Linked DNA regions of Homo sapiens: region 2 is linked to region 1. Evidence: promoter capture Hi-C in human tissues and cell types (Jung and others, 2019). All regions are on one chromosome and are shown on one strand. The core of a region is centred on a gene start or on the middle of the fragment in contact, and the rest is flanking DNA. Distances in the headings are between cores, read along the strand shown.

What was found. Contacts are between HindIII fragments. The study calls those that stand out against the background at their distance.
Region 2: a fragment that was not itself captured here is called in contact with the fragment with the promoter of HM13 in region 1 in 1 of the 25 tissues and cell types used here (mesendoderm cells).

What each region holds. Positions count from the first base shown.
Region 1 is chr20:31,509,619-31,517,233 of GRCh38, reverse strand. HM13 (histocompatibility minor 13) reads right to left here and starts at 2,792. Exons shown (of 13, transcript NM_178581.3): 1 at 2,500-2,792. The coding sequence starts at 2,682. It also overlaps the pseudogene CD24P3. RefSeq lists a silencer at 2,126-2,195. The HindIII fragment of the contact is 9,221 bases long and covers 1-5,171 here.
Region 2 is chr20:31,317,147-31,324,761 of GRCh38, reverse strand. No RefSeq gene overlaps it. Among named protein-coding and RNA genes, the nearest start is that of DEFB116, 12 kb to the right of the region's middle. The HindIII fragment of the contact is 4,475 bases long and covers 2,144-6,618 here.

The DNA.
Region 1 (7,615 bases), core at 1,543-4,042:
GACACCTTGACCCTTGGGGATTCTGTCCTCACATTCCCTCTCTCCCAACTGGTTTTGGGGTCCAACACTGGTGGGAAATCAAAACTGGGTCCCCACACTAACTCTTCTCTCTCCTTTTCACATGACCAGGGAAACGACTCAGGGTAGAAGGGGAGTCATTTGCCCTGTCCTTTCCCTAGGTCAATGCTGCTTGTCTTTAAAGGTACCTGTGTTAGGAGAGAGCCCTGGATGAGGACTAGGCATACCTGATTCTGCCCCTAAATGGCAGAGTGATCTTCAGAAGTCATTTCTTTGACTCTCAGTTTCTTTTCCTGTACAATGAGGATAATGAAACTGGCTCTGCCTGCCACCTCAGTTGCTGTGAGCATCAAAGGGCGTCAAGGTTTTGCAAGCTTTACCGCATCTGGGTCATTGGTGGTGGCAGGCTCTTAATGGTCAGGTCCTGTTTGTAAATTCATACAGTCCTCCACACCCTGCTGCCCTGCAGGAGATGCTTGGGAGAGGTATTCAGAGGCTAAGGCTTTCTCCTATCCATACCCTCTGTTCCAGCCACACCAAACCTTCCACTATTTCCTGAACTGCCTCGTAGCCTCCTGCCTCCGTACCTCTCTCTGCTTACCTGGTTTCTTTTGCTTAGAATGCCTTCTCCTGGCTGAAATTCTACCTCTACGTCAAGGCTCAGGCCTACCTCTAGCACAAAGCCTCCCTGCATTGTCCCAGATGTGCTCAATCTTTCTCCCTAAACCTTGTAGCATTGCTTGTAGTATAATCACAATCTAGTTATTATTCTTTCACCTACGCTCCCGAATTCCTTGGTGACAGGGCTCTGACCTACTCATCTTTGCAGCAATCCTCCCTTACCCCTGACAGTGGTGGAAGTTCAGGAAATACTGTTGCCTGGAAGGTGTTTTCTGCAGAGATTAGTGATCCATGTACAGAAGGTGCCAGGGAGAATTACTCAGTTTGGAGAGCAGCTCAGATCAAGCTGCCTAGCCTTATGCCAGCTGTCCTTCGCCTCCTCTGTCCTGGGTTATCTCAGAACTGCTCTCTACACTAAGTGTCTACCTGACAGGCATAGTAGAGAGGCTTAATATCACCTGAACTCAGCTTAGAAAAAGCCAAATAAAAAGGAAAATGGAGTCATGTTTGAGTCTCTCAGCCTAAGCCCCGCCTAACTACTTTCCTTTGCATCTGATCGCATACAGAGCCAGTAGTGAGTTCTCTGCTCCTGGGGAAGGAAGATGGCAGGCCTCAGCTACTGCTCAAGTTGGGTAGTGTTTTGAGAACCTCAGCTTCAGCAGTTTCAAAAGTGGCAGCTGCTTTGTGGGCCTGCCCTCTTTGGGCAAGACTTCCACTTAGGTCCATCCTCAGGTCTGGGTGGGGGAGGAGCATCGGGAAGGTGCAGATTAAGAGGTTGTGGAGGAAGGGAGAGGGTGCCAGGAAGTGAAAAGTCATTGGTACAACGGGCTAGAAAGGGCTTAATATAGGGAAGAAGTGGGGCAGGGAAGGGGGAGGGAGAAGCAGAAGGTGAAATGTGCTGGAGTCCTCCTAGTTATCCAATAGGACAGATGTTGAGGAAGGCCAGGGATGGAGTCTGGCCCAGTCTCACAAGAGGGGCCAACAGTGGCCCAGCAGACAGGCCCAGTTTGGTGGGGGGATTGTCTTGGGGGTATGGGGAGAAGGGCTACTTTGAGATAGGGTCAAAGGCTGGGTGGGAAAAGGGTTACAGGTTAGGAACAAGGTCTAGGTTTTGACTAGGCCATGTCCAAGGTTGGATGGTAGTTAAGAGAGGAAACCAGGAAAATAAGACGTCCATGCCTAGTTGGAAAGTAGAGGCACCAAGATGCCAGCTTCTGAGGAGCCAGCTGACTGGGATGGTTCCAGAAAGTGATGTGAAAAACTGGGCTCTAAGAGATCATTGTTTTTGAGGCAGGGGCAAGGGCCAGGTGTGGGGGATCTAGGTGAGCACATAAGGTGCCATAGATTCCAGTGAGACAGGAGTCAGAGTCTAGGGATGGGTCTGGATGGTAGAAAGGGCCCTGCGGTGGGCTGAGGCAGGGTTCCTAACAGGGAATGACACGAAATTGTACCATTCAGTAAGTTGTGAGGACCAGTATCCATCAGGTATACATGATGGGGCTGATCTGCCTGGGCCCAACAGGCTCAGAACAATCAGTGCCCGAGTCGCAGTGGGGGACGGGCTGACAGCGTTCCCAGCCGCGGCATGATGCACAGGGAGGGAAGTGTCAGGGTCCGGGTCGGGAGCAGAAGCAAGTTCCTATTGGGGAAGGTATCATACCCTGGTCGGGGGTCGGTGCCCAGATCCCGGGGTAGGAAATGCCAGCCCCGGAATGTGGGCCCGAGACAGAGGGAACGGTGGTGATCAGGGCTGGGAAGAGTCAGTGTCCGGGGAGAGGTGTCTGTCCCGCCTAGGAAGGGTCCATGTCGGCCGTGTTCGGTATGGGGGTGGAAAGTGCCCGGTTTTCCCGCTGACCCTACCTTGCCGCGGGCGCAGCGTACGGAGCGCAGGGCGCCGAAGAAGATGGGCAGCAGCGCCATGAGCAGGAGGCTGCCGTAGGCCAGCGCGATGCCCTCGGGCGTGGAAGGCGGCCGCGTAGTGCTGTTGGTGGGGCCGCCTGCCTCGGCACTGCCGTTATGCGGATCGCTGAGGGCCGAGTCCATGGCGAGGGTGCGTTCGGGATCCGACTCCAGCTCCGGTTGCTGCAGCAGGGACGCAGGCGGAGACACCGGCTCTGCAGGGAAAGCCACGTTCCCCTAAGGCAACAGGAAGTGACGTGCTCCCTCCCAAGCCCGCGCCGCGCACGCGCGCACACACGCTTGCACGCACGCGCGCGCGCGTGCACGTCTCCCCGCCCGCTCGCCCTCTAGCGGTGGCCGAGGGCCGGGCGGCGGGTTGCTAAGCAACTTGTTAGCGGTCCGGACAGGGGCTCTGGGCCACTGCGGTGGGCATGCGACCCGAATGCCCATTTCCCAGTCCCAGCCGGTCTCCTCAATCCCCTGCTGTCCACTCTCCGCAAATCCTCATATTCCGAATAACTAAGAATGTGTTTATTCATACATGCATTTATTGGGTATCCAATTGTTTATTCACTCCTTAAATATTTATTGAATGTCCCTCAATATGCCAACAACTGACCTAGGCTCTGGGGACACTGAGGTGAACAATACAGGCAAAAGTTCCTCCTTGCCTTCGTGAAGTTTGCATTTTAGTGCAGTGTGTGTGGGGGGACGTTGGGAAGACAATAAAGAAACTGAACAAAATAAAAGTCTGTAAAATGGGCTGGGCGCAGTGGCTCACGCCTGTAATCCCAGCACTCTAGGAGGCCGAGGCGGGTGGATCACCTGACGTCACGAGTTCGAGACCAGCCTGACCAATATGGTGAAACCCCGTCTGCACTAAAAATACAAACAATTAGCCGGGCGTGGTGGCACGCACCTGTAATCCCAGCTACTCGGGAGGCTGAGGCAGGAGAATCGCCTGAACCCGGGAGGCGGAGGTTGCAGTGAGCCAAGACTGAGCCATTGCACTCCAGCCTGGGCAACAAGAGCGAAACTCCGTCTGAAAAAAAAAAAAAAAAAAAAAAAAAAAAAGGCCAGGCGCGGTGGCTCACGCCTGTAATCCCAGCACTTTGGGAGGCCGAGGTGGGCAGATTGCGAGGTCAGGAGATCGAGACCATCCTGGCTAACACGGTGAAACCCCGTCTGTACTAAAAATATAAAAAATTAGCCGGGCGTGGTGGCGGGCGCCTACAATCCCAGCTACTTGGGAGGCTGAGGCAGGAGACTGGCTTGAACCTGGGAGGCGGAGGTTGCAGTGAGCCCACTGCACTCCAGCCTGGGCGACAGAGTGAGACTCTGTCTCAAAAAAAAAAAAAAAAAAAACAAGAAAAATTTGTAATTTGTAAAACGTTAATGTATAGTTATGTGTTACATAGCATGTTAATGCAGATAAATAGAGAAAAATAAAGCAAAAGAAAGTAAGGTGTGTGTGGAGTTTGCAAATGTATTGAGAGCCTACTATGTGCCAGGCAATTATAATACCTTACGAGTTCATGCCCCTGTACAATTTATAAAGCTTTGTGGCTCTTTTCAGAATTTGAAGAATCTGTTTATTTATGTGATTCTTATTTTTGATATTGTTAAAAAAGTTAAAAATATATATTTTCTTAGACATGGGGTTTTGCCATGTTGGCCAGGCTGGTCTCAAACTCCTAGGTTCAAGTGATCCTCCTGCCTCAGCCTCCTAAAGTGTTGGGATTACAGGTATGAGCCACTGCTTGCAGCCTACTGTGGCTATATTAGATACTGGAACATCTAAGCATCACTGTGTGACTGTGCAAACAAAAAACTTCAAGGAGGGCCTATTATTATTATTATTATTATTATTATTTTGAGACAGGGTCTCACTCTGTCACCCAGGCTGGAGTGCAGTGGCATGATCACAGCTCACTGCAGCCTCTACCTTCTGGGCTTGGGTGATTCTCCCACCTCAGCCTCCCCAGTAGCTGGGACCACAGGTGTGTGCCACCACGCCCGGCTAACTTTTTGTGTTTTTAGTAGAGATGGGGTTTCGGCATGTTGCCCAGGCTGGTCTCAAACTCCTGGGCTCAAGCAATCTGCCCACTTCGGCCTCCCAAAGTTCTGCAATTATAGGCATGAGCTGCCACCTCCCGCAAGAGTGCCTATTTTATTTTATTTTATTTATTTTTTATTTTTTTTTTTGAGATGGAGTCTTGCTATGTCACCCAGGCTGGAGTGCAGTGGCACGATTTCGGCTCACTGCAACCTCCAGCTTCCGGGTTCACGCCATTCTCCTGCCTCAGCCTCCCGAGTAGCTAGGACTACACGCACCCGCCACCACGCTCGGCTAATTTTTGGTATTTTTAGTAGAGTCAGGGTTTCACCGTGTTAGCCAGGATGGTCTCGATCTCCTGACCTCGTGATCCGCCCGCCTCGGCCTCCCAAAGTGCTGGGATTACAGGCATGAGCCACCGCGCCCGGCCAAGAGTGCCTATTTTAAAAAAGATTTCTATGTGTTGAGGCAGTTGTTTACTGCAGAATTAAGCCCACTTTAGGCTTACTACCAGCTTCTATCTAAAAATATTGACTGATAACCGAAAGTGTTCTAAAGGTGGTTATTCTGATCTATAGTTTTTTTGTTTGTTGTGAGACTGAGTTTTGCTCTTTTTGCTCAGGCTGGAGTGCAATGGCGCAATCTCGGCTCACCACAACCTCTGCCTCCCTGGTTCAAGCGATTCTCCTGCCTCAGCCTCCCGAGTAGCTGGGATTACAGGCATGCGTCACCACGCCCAGTTAATTTTGTATTTTCAGTAGAGATGGGGTTTCTCCATGTTGGTCAGGCTGGTCTCGAACGCCTGACCTCAGTGATCCACTCGCCTCGGCCTCCCAAAGTGCTAGGATTACAGGCGTGAACCACTGCGCCTAGCCTCTGATCTATAGTTTTTTAAAAAAGTATTTACAGAAAGTATAGAAGTTTTTGTGAATTTAATACAAGTTAGCCTCCAATTTTCTCTTCTCAAATGTTTGATTTATAGTTTTTGCTCCTTTACATATTTGCTTTTTTAATTTCAAGATTTGTAATTTTACCTTCAAAACAGTTCATTTTTAAAATTGTAAAGCATGTTTAACATACGCAGAAATAGGCTGGGTATGGTGGTTCACGCCTGTAATCCCAGCATGCTGGGAGGCCGAGGTGGGTGGATCGTGTGAGCCCAGGAGTTAGAGACCAGCCCGGGCAACATAGCAAGACCACATCTAAAAAATAAATAAATAAATAAAAAAAAGTCAGTATTTTGAAATTATTTGAGCTCAATGCAGTTCTACTCTTTGGAAGCAGATTAGCTAACTGAATCTGGTGCTCTTGTTGAATAGAAATAGGTGATGGGAAATGTCTATCATTTGACTTTATAAGGATAAGCAAGATTTACCATGATGCTTTGATTTGGGGGTGGATTCCAGTCCATCATTGCCCTGGCACATGTCAATTAGTACACACAAAATTCAATGTCAAATCCAGAGCCTCAGAGGAAAAAATTTATTCCCCAAGAGAACAATGATAACATAACAAAGTAAAATGTTATCTAGATTATATTGGTATTAAAATTATCTCTTATATAAAGTATATTGACTGTAACTATACATAGAAGATTCATAGTAACACCTGGAAGTTCCTTCTCATGTTATATATAAATTGAATTATGAAAGCTTTTTATATTACCTGTTTATGGCCTTATAGATTTAATGTACCAAATGAAAACTTCCCACTCTACCTCTAGATAAGATAAAATCTATATTTATTTTCAAGGTAGAGTTTTAAGTGGCCATATTTCTTAAGCCGTATTCAAAGGAAAATTTTATTTCAAGGCACATTTTCACTCTGTCACCCAGGCTGGAACACAATGGCATGATCACAGCTCACTGCAGCCTTGACCTCCTGGGCTCAAGCGACCCTCCCACTTCAGCCTCCCGAGTAGCTGGGACTATAGGCATATACCACCATGCCCAGCTAATTTTTCCATTTTTTATAGAGATGGGGTTTCACCATGTTGCCCAGGCTGGTCTTGAATTCCTGGGCTCAAGCGATCTGCTCACCTTGGCCTCCCAAAGTGCTGGGATTACAGGCATGACTACCATGCCTGGCCACTCAAGGAAATTGTGTCTTAACTAAGTTTGAATGCTGTTCCTCTTCATTTTGTATATGAAACTTCAGCTGATTTAATATTGACATTCATCATCTAGTCAAACCCTTCACATGTTCTTCAAACCAACCAAATTTGGGGTTCTTGACATTTTCTGTGTCAATAAAATTAGATGTGGATCTTATCTTTTTTTTTGAGATGGCGTTTTGTTCTGTCACCCAGGCTGGAGTGCAGTAGTGTGATCTTGGCTCACTGCAACCTCTGTGTCCCGGGCTCAAGCAATTTTCCTGCCTCAGCCTCCTGAGTAGCTGGGACAACAGGCACCCGCCATCACGCCCGGCTAATTTTTGTGTTTTTAGTAGAGATGGGGTTTCACCATGTTGGTCAGGCTGGTCTCAAACTCCTGACCTCGTGATCTGCCCGTCTCGGCCTTCCAAAGTGCTGGGATTACAGGCGTGAGCCACCACGCCCAACCAAGATGTGGATCTTATATTTTATTTTGAGATGGAGTCTCGTTCTTTCGCCCAGGCTGGAGTGCAGTGGCATGATCTCAGCTCACTGCAAGTTCCGCCTCCCGGGTTCATGCCATTCTCCTGCCTCAGCCTCCCAAGTAGCTGGGACTACAGGCACCCGCCACCGTGCCCGGCTAATTTTTTTTTTTTTTTGTATTTTTAGTAGAGACGGGGTTTCACCGTGTTAGCCAGGATGGTCTTGATCTCCTGACCTCATGATCCACCCGCCTCGGCCTCCCAAAGTGCTGGGATTACAGGTGTGAGCCACCACGCCTGGCCTGTATCTTATTTTATCTAGATCTACTAGATTTGATGAAGACTTGTTTTTTCCTTGCCATACTGGCCTTCTAGATGACCTTTGAATTGAATTTAGAAGATGGGAAAGTGTAGACCTGTCTTGGCCTGAGTCTTTTTTTTGAGATA
Region 2 (7,615 bases), core at 3,132-5,631, 190 kb after region 1:
AGCTTCACATCCAACCGTCTATGCTCTACTTTGCAATGCTGAGGCTAGCACACTACAAACAGGGGTTCTCCTTTGCAGAATGTTTCCTTAAGCTCTGCCAATAGGCGGTGCCAGGAGCACATTTCAAAGTTGGAGGGGGAAGAACTCTTTCCTATTTACTTCCTAAGGGCTTCCTATTTATTTCCTGTTGCCAACAGCATCACTCATTCTTGCTTCTTCACCCCAACACTGGGAGGGCATTCCTCTAGCACAGTTGAATCCAATTTGCAATTTTCCAACACAGCCAGCCTCATGATGCCTCATAGATACTAGTTCTAGCTGAGCAGAGCTCCTTCCTCAGAGATCTGAAATTCAGCTCAGCAGGTATCTTCCTCCAAGCTTCTAATTTATTTTTAATGGTTCCAACCTTTTTTCTTGTTATTCCCACCCTGGAATTGGTAGCTGATTCCTGCAGTTGCTACATCTGTGATAGCTGAGTGTCCTCTTTATTTTTTTCAATTCTTAAATGCCTATATAACAAATCTTTATATTAAAGTTAATATTAAATTTATTAATATGAACACTAATATTACACTTAAATGTTAAATAATCCCTGTTAAGATAACTGATAAAACTGTGACTCATACAATATGCAATTAGATGAAGGGTTAAGGGCAAGAGATTGAGTCCCAGTTGAGGAGGGGTAGGGATCTCTGAGAGATATTGGACACCAGGGATGAATTTTGTTGAACAGTGGGAAGAGGAGCTTGCAGTTAGGGAGATATTTGGAAGATGGTTCGGGATAAATACTAGGTGAGGAGTTGTATTGGGGGAATTAGGATTGGTATGAGGTAGTCTGGAGAGGGGGTGAAATTTATGGCCAAATGAATCTGGATATAGGGATTAGGCAGGGTGATGGGCTGAACTGGAGCTAGTGGTAGTAAAGTTAGGTTGTGGTTGTCTTGGGGTTAAACATGGATAGACCTTGGGTAGAGTAGGGTTGGAGTTTGGAGTTAAGATGGAAACAGAGTTTAGGCTCAATTTGAACAAAAGTGTGAGTGATCAGAACTTGGGATTGGTCTGTAGTTGTGTGGAACTTGAATCTGTGTTAGGCTTAAATGGAGCCACGTAATCAGGTAGATCGGGGTCTATTAAAATTTATTCTGTTCCCTCCTCCAAATGAAAATATCCAGAGGCCTTTCTCCATAACTTCCCAAATTCCTTGGGTGAGAACTTCATAGGCACTGAATGGTTCAAATGTTAGAATTTGGAAGTTGGCTAGAGGAAGAAAAAGGCTGGTATGATCAGAGAGGGCACCTCTTGAAGCTGAGCATTTCCACAAGAATACCCTGAGAGTAGTTTCTCACATCCCTCCACTATTTCAAAGTCAACACAATCATCTTTCTGTCCTTCTCGTCTCCCTCATCCAGACTCTCTTTTTTCTTGCGCTGCTCCTCAATTCTCTCTACATATGGGAACTAATCACTGCCAGTGTTTTTGTTTTCTTTTTAAAAAATATCCCACCAACACTGTTATACCCTGTAGATTGTTTTGTGAAGAAGACGAAGATGGGGAAACTGAGCCTCAGAAAGGAAAGTGACCTTCACACAGGCATTCAGTGGGTCACACACAATGGTGAAATTCAAAAGAAGATTTCTTCTGACTATCAGACTGAGCAATGAGGAAATATTAGAAGTGAAAATAAATTGATGTTGGCGATACAAAGTCTGATGGCGATACAAAGTATTACCCAAAAAACCGTGGTAATAAGGAACTTAAAAAAGGTACTGACATTTGCTTTGGGTGATGCAGCCGTGTGTCTCTGTCCGGATGGAAAGAGTGAGAGAGAGAGAGAGACTACCTTCCTGCACCTCTCTCTGTGTCAGCATTTTGCCCATTGCTCTGGTGGATTCTGAGAGAGTTTTGAGTATTTCGTAGTGGTCTTCCTATTCAGGGCGATTGGGAGAGGGCAATCCCTTCAGACTGGGGCGGAATTAGATCAGGTTTGAGTTTCATTCTGAGGAGGGCTCCCTGCAGCACTTATTCTCCCTATCTATGTGAGGCCTGCTGAGAAGGCATGCCAGGCAGCAGGGAGGAGTCCCCTGTCTGTTTGGATGTGGGAGGGGACATACAGGGGCACTGTGATTCAAATGCAGCAAGGACTGTAAAAGTTTTTGGTAGTTTTCTGGGATCTACCAGGAGGCCAGCAGATGTAGCTACTGTTTTGGGTTTCTGTGGGAGGCCATATACTAGCCTGACACAAAGGCATTCCTTCTTTCCAAAACTTCAGCGAAGAAAAAAAATATCCTTTTTTTGCTGCCATCCTGATCCAAAGAAAATAGAAGAAATAATTTTTAGTTTATTCAAATACTTATAAACAAGGGATGACTTTGAGCATTGTTTATATATTGGAATTATTTTTAGTTTATTTAGGTACTGAAGAATTTATTATACCTGGCCCTTCATAGAAGGATAAGCATGAAATGAGTGCTAATAAATAAATGTATTGTCAAGGGGAGCATCACTGTGGAGGAATTTCAATAGACTAAAATGCTGAGAACTTATGGTGACAGCTGTGGAGGAATTCACTTACTCCATTTCTTTTATGAAAACGGGTGCACTTGAAATTTTATGTATATATAACCTGAGTCTTCATGTGAGCACTGTATTGAAAATTATATTGAAAACATTGATAAGTTTGAGTATGTAAAAATATAAGAATTTCTGTCCATCAAAAGATACCCAAAAGAAAGTAAAAAGGTAAGCTACAAACTGTAAGGAACATAAATGTTCTTTGACAGGCAAATAGATAAATAAATTGTGATATATTCAAAGAATGAGCTACATATCAGGGAAAAGAAGTAAAATTCAGCTACACACAATAGTTGAATTTTAATAATAATAATATATTATGGATTGTAAAAGACAAATCTTAGAAGACTATGCATACCAAAGAAGACTTTGTTACCTCTTTTAAAAATAAAACTATTTTTTTCCCAGTTTTATTTTTCTCCCCAAAATTAAACTTTAAACAATAAAAATTACCATTATGCTACTTAGAAATACAAATAAATATGTTAAATTCTTGGGGAGTGGATAAGGAAAGGCAGGATGTGTGGGATTTTAGAGGAATACAGGAGTATTTAAATTTAAGTTATTGATGCTATTTTAGCTCTTGTATTTGTGAAGGACTCGTTATTTTTAAAATAAATGAATAAAAACATTACAATAAATAAACATTAAAGAGGGCTATAAAGATGCCAAAAATTTTGTATGGACCAAGATAATGGTATGCACCTCTGGTATATTAGAAAGGAAAAAAAAAACACACAAAAAAAACCCCCCACAAAAACCTATAGAACAATGGATATCGCAGCTGCAACTGGCATTATCTAGAAAGGAGTCAGCCTTCTCCAGCTGTTTCACTATATGTAGAGATGGTGTGGTACAATGGATATAGTTGAGGGTTTGGGATATGAATGTTGGCTTTATTACTTACTATTTAGAGAGACTTTGCTGGAAATTTGTAAGCACAAAACCAGAAAACAGCTATGAAGAATTAACTACTTAAATTTAATTACTTCTCTATGGCAAAATGTACCATACACAAATTAAAAGGTAAGTCCAACACTGGGAAAATATTTTATTACTTCTTTAGTTCAAAGATTTCTCTGGTGGGGCATGAGATAATCTTATGGGCAGTAAAGTACTTACCTGAAGGAGATTATAAAGTGACACTGTCTAATTTATAAGAGGATAAAGAAACCTAAGTTTGAAAAAAACTCAAGTTGCACATAACCTTGAGGTTCAGACATATTTAGACTTGTTTAGAAAAAGCAAAAGAGAAGATACTGGTCAAATAGCAACCAAATTTCAAGAATAGGCAGAAAGAATCTTCTTTCCCTAGTAGCCATGCTGAGCAACAAAGCTTAACATTGGGCTTAAGCATTTGCCTTGAACTCCATGGCAGAGTGAGTACTTTTCTGCTGAAAACATCTCTAAAATGGATATTTTTCATATTTTCTTAAATGATTTCATAAGCTTGCAAAAATTAAATAATATGGAACCAAGAAATTGAATTGAGAAGGGAGTCCTTTTAGGAAAAGAAACACTGAAACAGTTTCCACCTTGAGGGTATTTCCTGAACCATATGAACTTGAGTTATGCTTTTCATGGCCTTATGGAACTGAGAAATGGAAATTACTATCCAGAGTACCAGTGGTAAAAAACCTAATAAGAGACTCCTGCATCAATATGGGACTTCAAAGAATTGCGTCTTTACAATAACAGTGAGCTGGAAACAATCCCTACTCCCCAGTTGGATTGCAAGGAAAATGAACTGTTTTTAATTTAGTTAATGAGAAGATTGGGTGTGTGTGTGCAAGGGAGTCTCCTCTGAGATTTTGTAATCCCAAGCAGGCCCTCACTTAGTATATAGCCTGAATCATGGCACTCTGATGATATGAAAAATCTAAAGCTGAGAATCTAATTTACACAGGCCCAGACTGGTAATGCCCTTAGTTGCCTGACAGAAGTAAACATAAATATTCTCTGAAGAACTCATCTTAATCCTAGACCTCTTTAAAAAAGTTTAAAGAAAATGATCAGTTCGCAGACAAAAATCACAAAACTCTCAAGAAAATAAAGCATTATGAATGAGAAGCAGCAGAAAGAATAAATAGTAAACTCAAACCTGGAACAATTCAGATATTGAAGTTGTCAGTCACAGAATAGAAAGTAATTATCTTTATGGCTGGGCACATTGGCTCACGTCTGTAATCCCACACTTTGGGAGGGCAAGGTGGGCAGATCACCTGAGACTGGGAGTTCAAGACTAGCCTGGCCAACATGGTGAAACCCCCTCTCTGCTAAAAAAAAAAAATTAGCCAGGCGTGGTGGCATGTCCCCGTGATCCCATCCACTCGGGAGGCTGAGGCAGGAGAATCGCTTGAACCCAGAAGCCAGAGGTTGCAGTGAGATGAGATTGGGCCAGCCTGGGTGACAAAGCATTCCAGCCTGGGTGACAAAGCAAGACTCCATCTCAAAAAAAAAAAAAAAAAAGAAAAAATAATCATCTTTAATATGTTTCAAGAAAAAATCAAGACTTGAAATTATAAATAAAAAGCAAGCAGATCTTGGCCAAGTGCAGTGGCTCATGCCTGTAATCGCAGCACTTTAGGAGGTCGAGGCGGGTGGGTTGCCTGAGCTCAGGAGTTTGTGACCACCTGGGGCAAGATGATGAAACCCTGTCTCTACCAAAATACAAAAAATTAGCTGGATGTGGTGGTGCACACCTATAGTCTTAGCTACTGAGGGGGCTGAGGTGGGAGGATTGCTTGAGCCAGGGAGGTGGAGGTTGCAGTGAGCTGAGATCATGCCACTGCACTCCAGCCTGACTGACAGAGTGAGACCCCATCACAAAAAAAAAAAAAAAGGAAGCAGATCTGAAAAATAAATAGAAATAACTTGAAATAACGTGAAAATAAAAACTTGGATTTAACATTACATTAGACATAGCTGAAGAGAGAATTAGTGAATTAAGAGATTATTCAGAAGAAATTATTCAGAATTTAGTGCAGATAGACAAAAAGATTAAAAAAATAAAAGGGAGGTTAAGAGACATAGAAAATATAGTGAGAAGTCCTAAACATGTTTATTTGGAATTCTAGAAGGAAAGAGGAGAGAAAATGGGAGCAGAAGTAATAGTACCAGTTAACATGACTGAGAACTTGTGAACTGATGAAAAACACCAATCTTTCAGACTCAAAAAAAACCCTAATAAATCAAAACCAGGGTAAATATGAAAAATGCACATGTAGATAGAACACAGGGAAAATGTAGAATAATGAAAACAAGGAGAAGATCTGAAACCAGCTAGAGAAAAAGGTCCTATTACCTGCAAGGGAGCAAATATTAGACTGACAGCAACTTTTTCAGCATCAACAAAGAAAGCATGAAGACAATGATACTATATTTTCAGTGTGCTGAGGAAGAATAACTCTCACATATATTCCTACACCTAATGAAATTGTAATTTAAGAATGAAGATATACTGTAGATATTTTCAGATAAAATCTAGGAGAATTTTCTATAATAGGCTATCACCAAAGGAAATTCTAAGAGAGAAGCTTTAGACAGAAGGTCAATACTTGTAAATATGTGGCAAATTTGCAATCATTCATTGATAAAATAATAACAATAGTATTTTTCTTAACCAAAAACAATAAGATAAAATTAAAATTGCACATAAATTAGGAGATGAGTATTTGGGATTAAAAAAATAAAGTTGAAATGAATAGGAAATACACTAACCCAAAGAAAGCAGTTTAGCTAAATTAATATCACACAAAATAGACTTCCAGGAAAGAAAGCATTATTGAGATAAAAAGTATAACTGCGTAGTGATAAAATGTTCAACTTACTGGGAAGACATGTTTTCCAAACATATTTTTGTACCTTTATTAATACAGCATGGAAATATATGTAAATAAAAATCATCAGAAATAAAGAGGAATGGATGAATCCATAATTAAAGTCGGGGACTTAGAAATCCTCCTCTGAATATAGATGTGGTAATCACCAGTTAGTAGGATTAATCTAATATACAGAACACTGCATCCAAATGATACAAATTGTTCTCAAATAGAGACAAGAACATTTATAAAATATTATCACAGGCTGAGTGATATGGGACATCTTATCACATATCAACATAATGAATAACCTAAGAATATCTGCCTTATTTATTTGCCATTGTTACTTGACAAATTATAATTGTATATATGGAAGCTCTGTCTTTTGATTATATTGTAGGCATTTGTTATGGATAATTTTATATGCTTTTCTTATTGATTCATATGATATATATGACTTTTGGAGTATTGTAAGGAGACCTAAATTTAGGTGGCTAAACAGAATCCAGAAACCTCACAAGCATTAAAATGTAAATATTTTAGTTTTTCCAACTTAAATTGACTAGAACCAATAGCACCGTATTAGCAATGAGCATAAGTGCCCAGATTTTGGTCTGCAAGTCAAGTCTTCACTCAAAGCAACCAGGGCCATTTAGAAAAATGGCTGAACCCTGGTCTAGTGCTGTGGACTTACAGTGTGAGCCCAGGACATTTTCTTGTGCAGAAATCATCAAAGCTTTAAAAAACGAATGGGTCATGTAAAGGGATATATAATCCAGCCAGAGGAAATCTCTACTTGATAAGGTTATAACAATTTGAGCATCAAAAATAGTAACAAATAAAATGGACTGGAATACAATGAATCAATGAAAAGGCATGATTGTCTAAAGATACTCAGAGATGGGATAACCAGAAAAACTCATATGTCACCATTTGAAGCAGCTACTAAGCAAACTACTTACTTCAAAGACCAATAAGTAATTTGAAAGAATTAAGCATTTATCCTGCCTCTCCAGTAAGAGCTGTATTTCTAGTAATCAAATAGCTCTTGTTGATGAGGGAAAGCTATATTTTACTGAATTGTATTCTGCAACGCCTAAAGAATTTATTGATTCAGGCAAGGACCATAATTTGTGTTAAAACCATTAAGGATGTGATTGACATGGAACCAGATATTTGTTACTTGGCAAAAGTAACAACATACAGACCAATTTGAATATGAA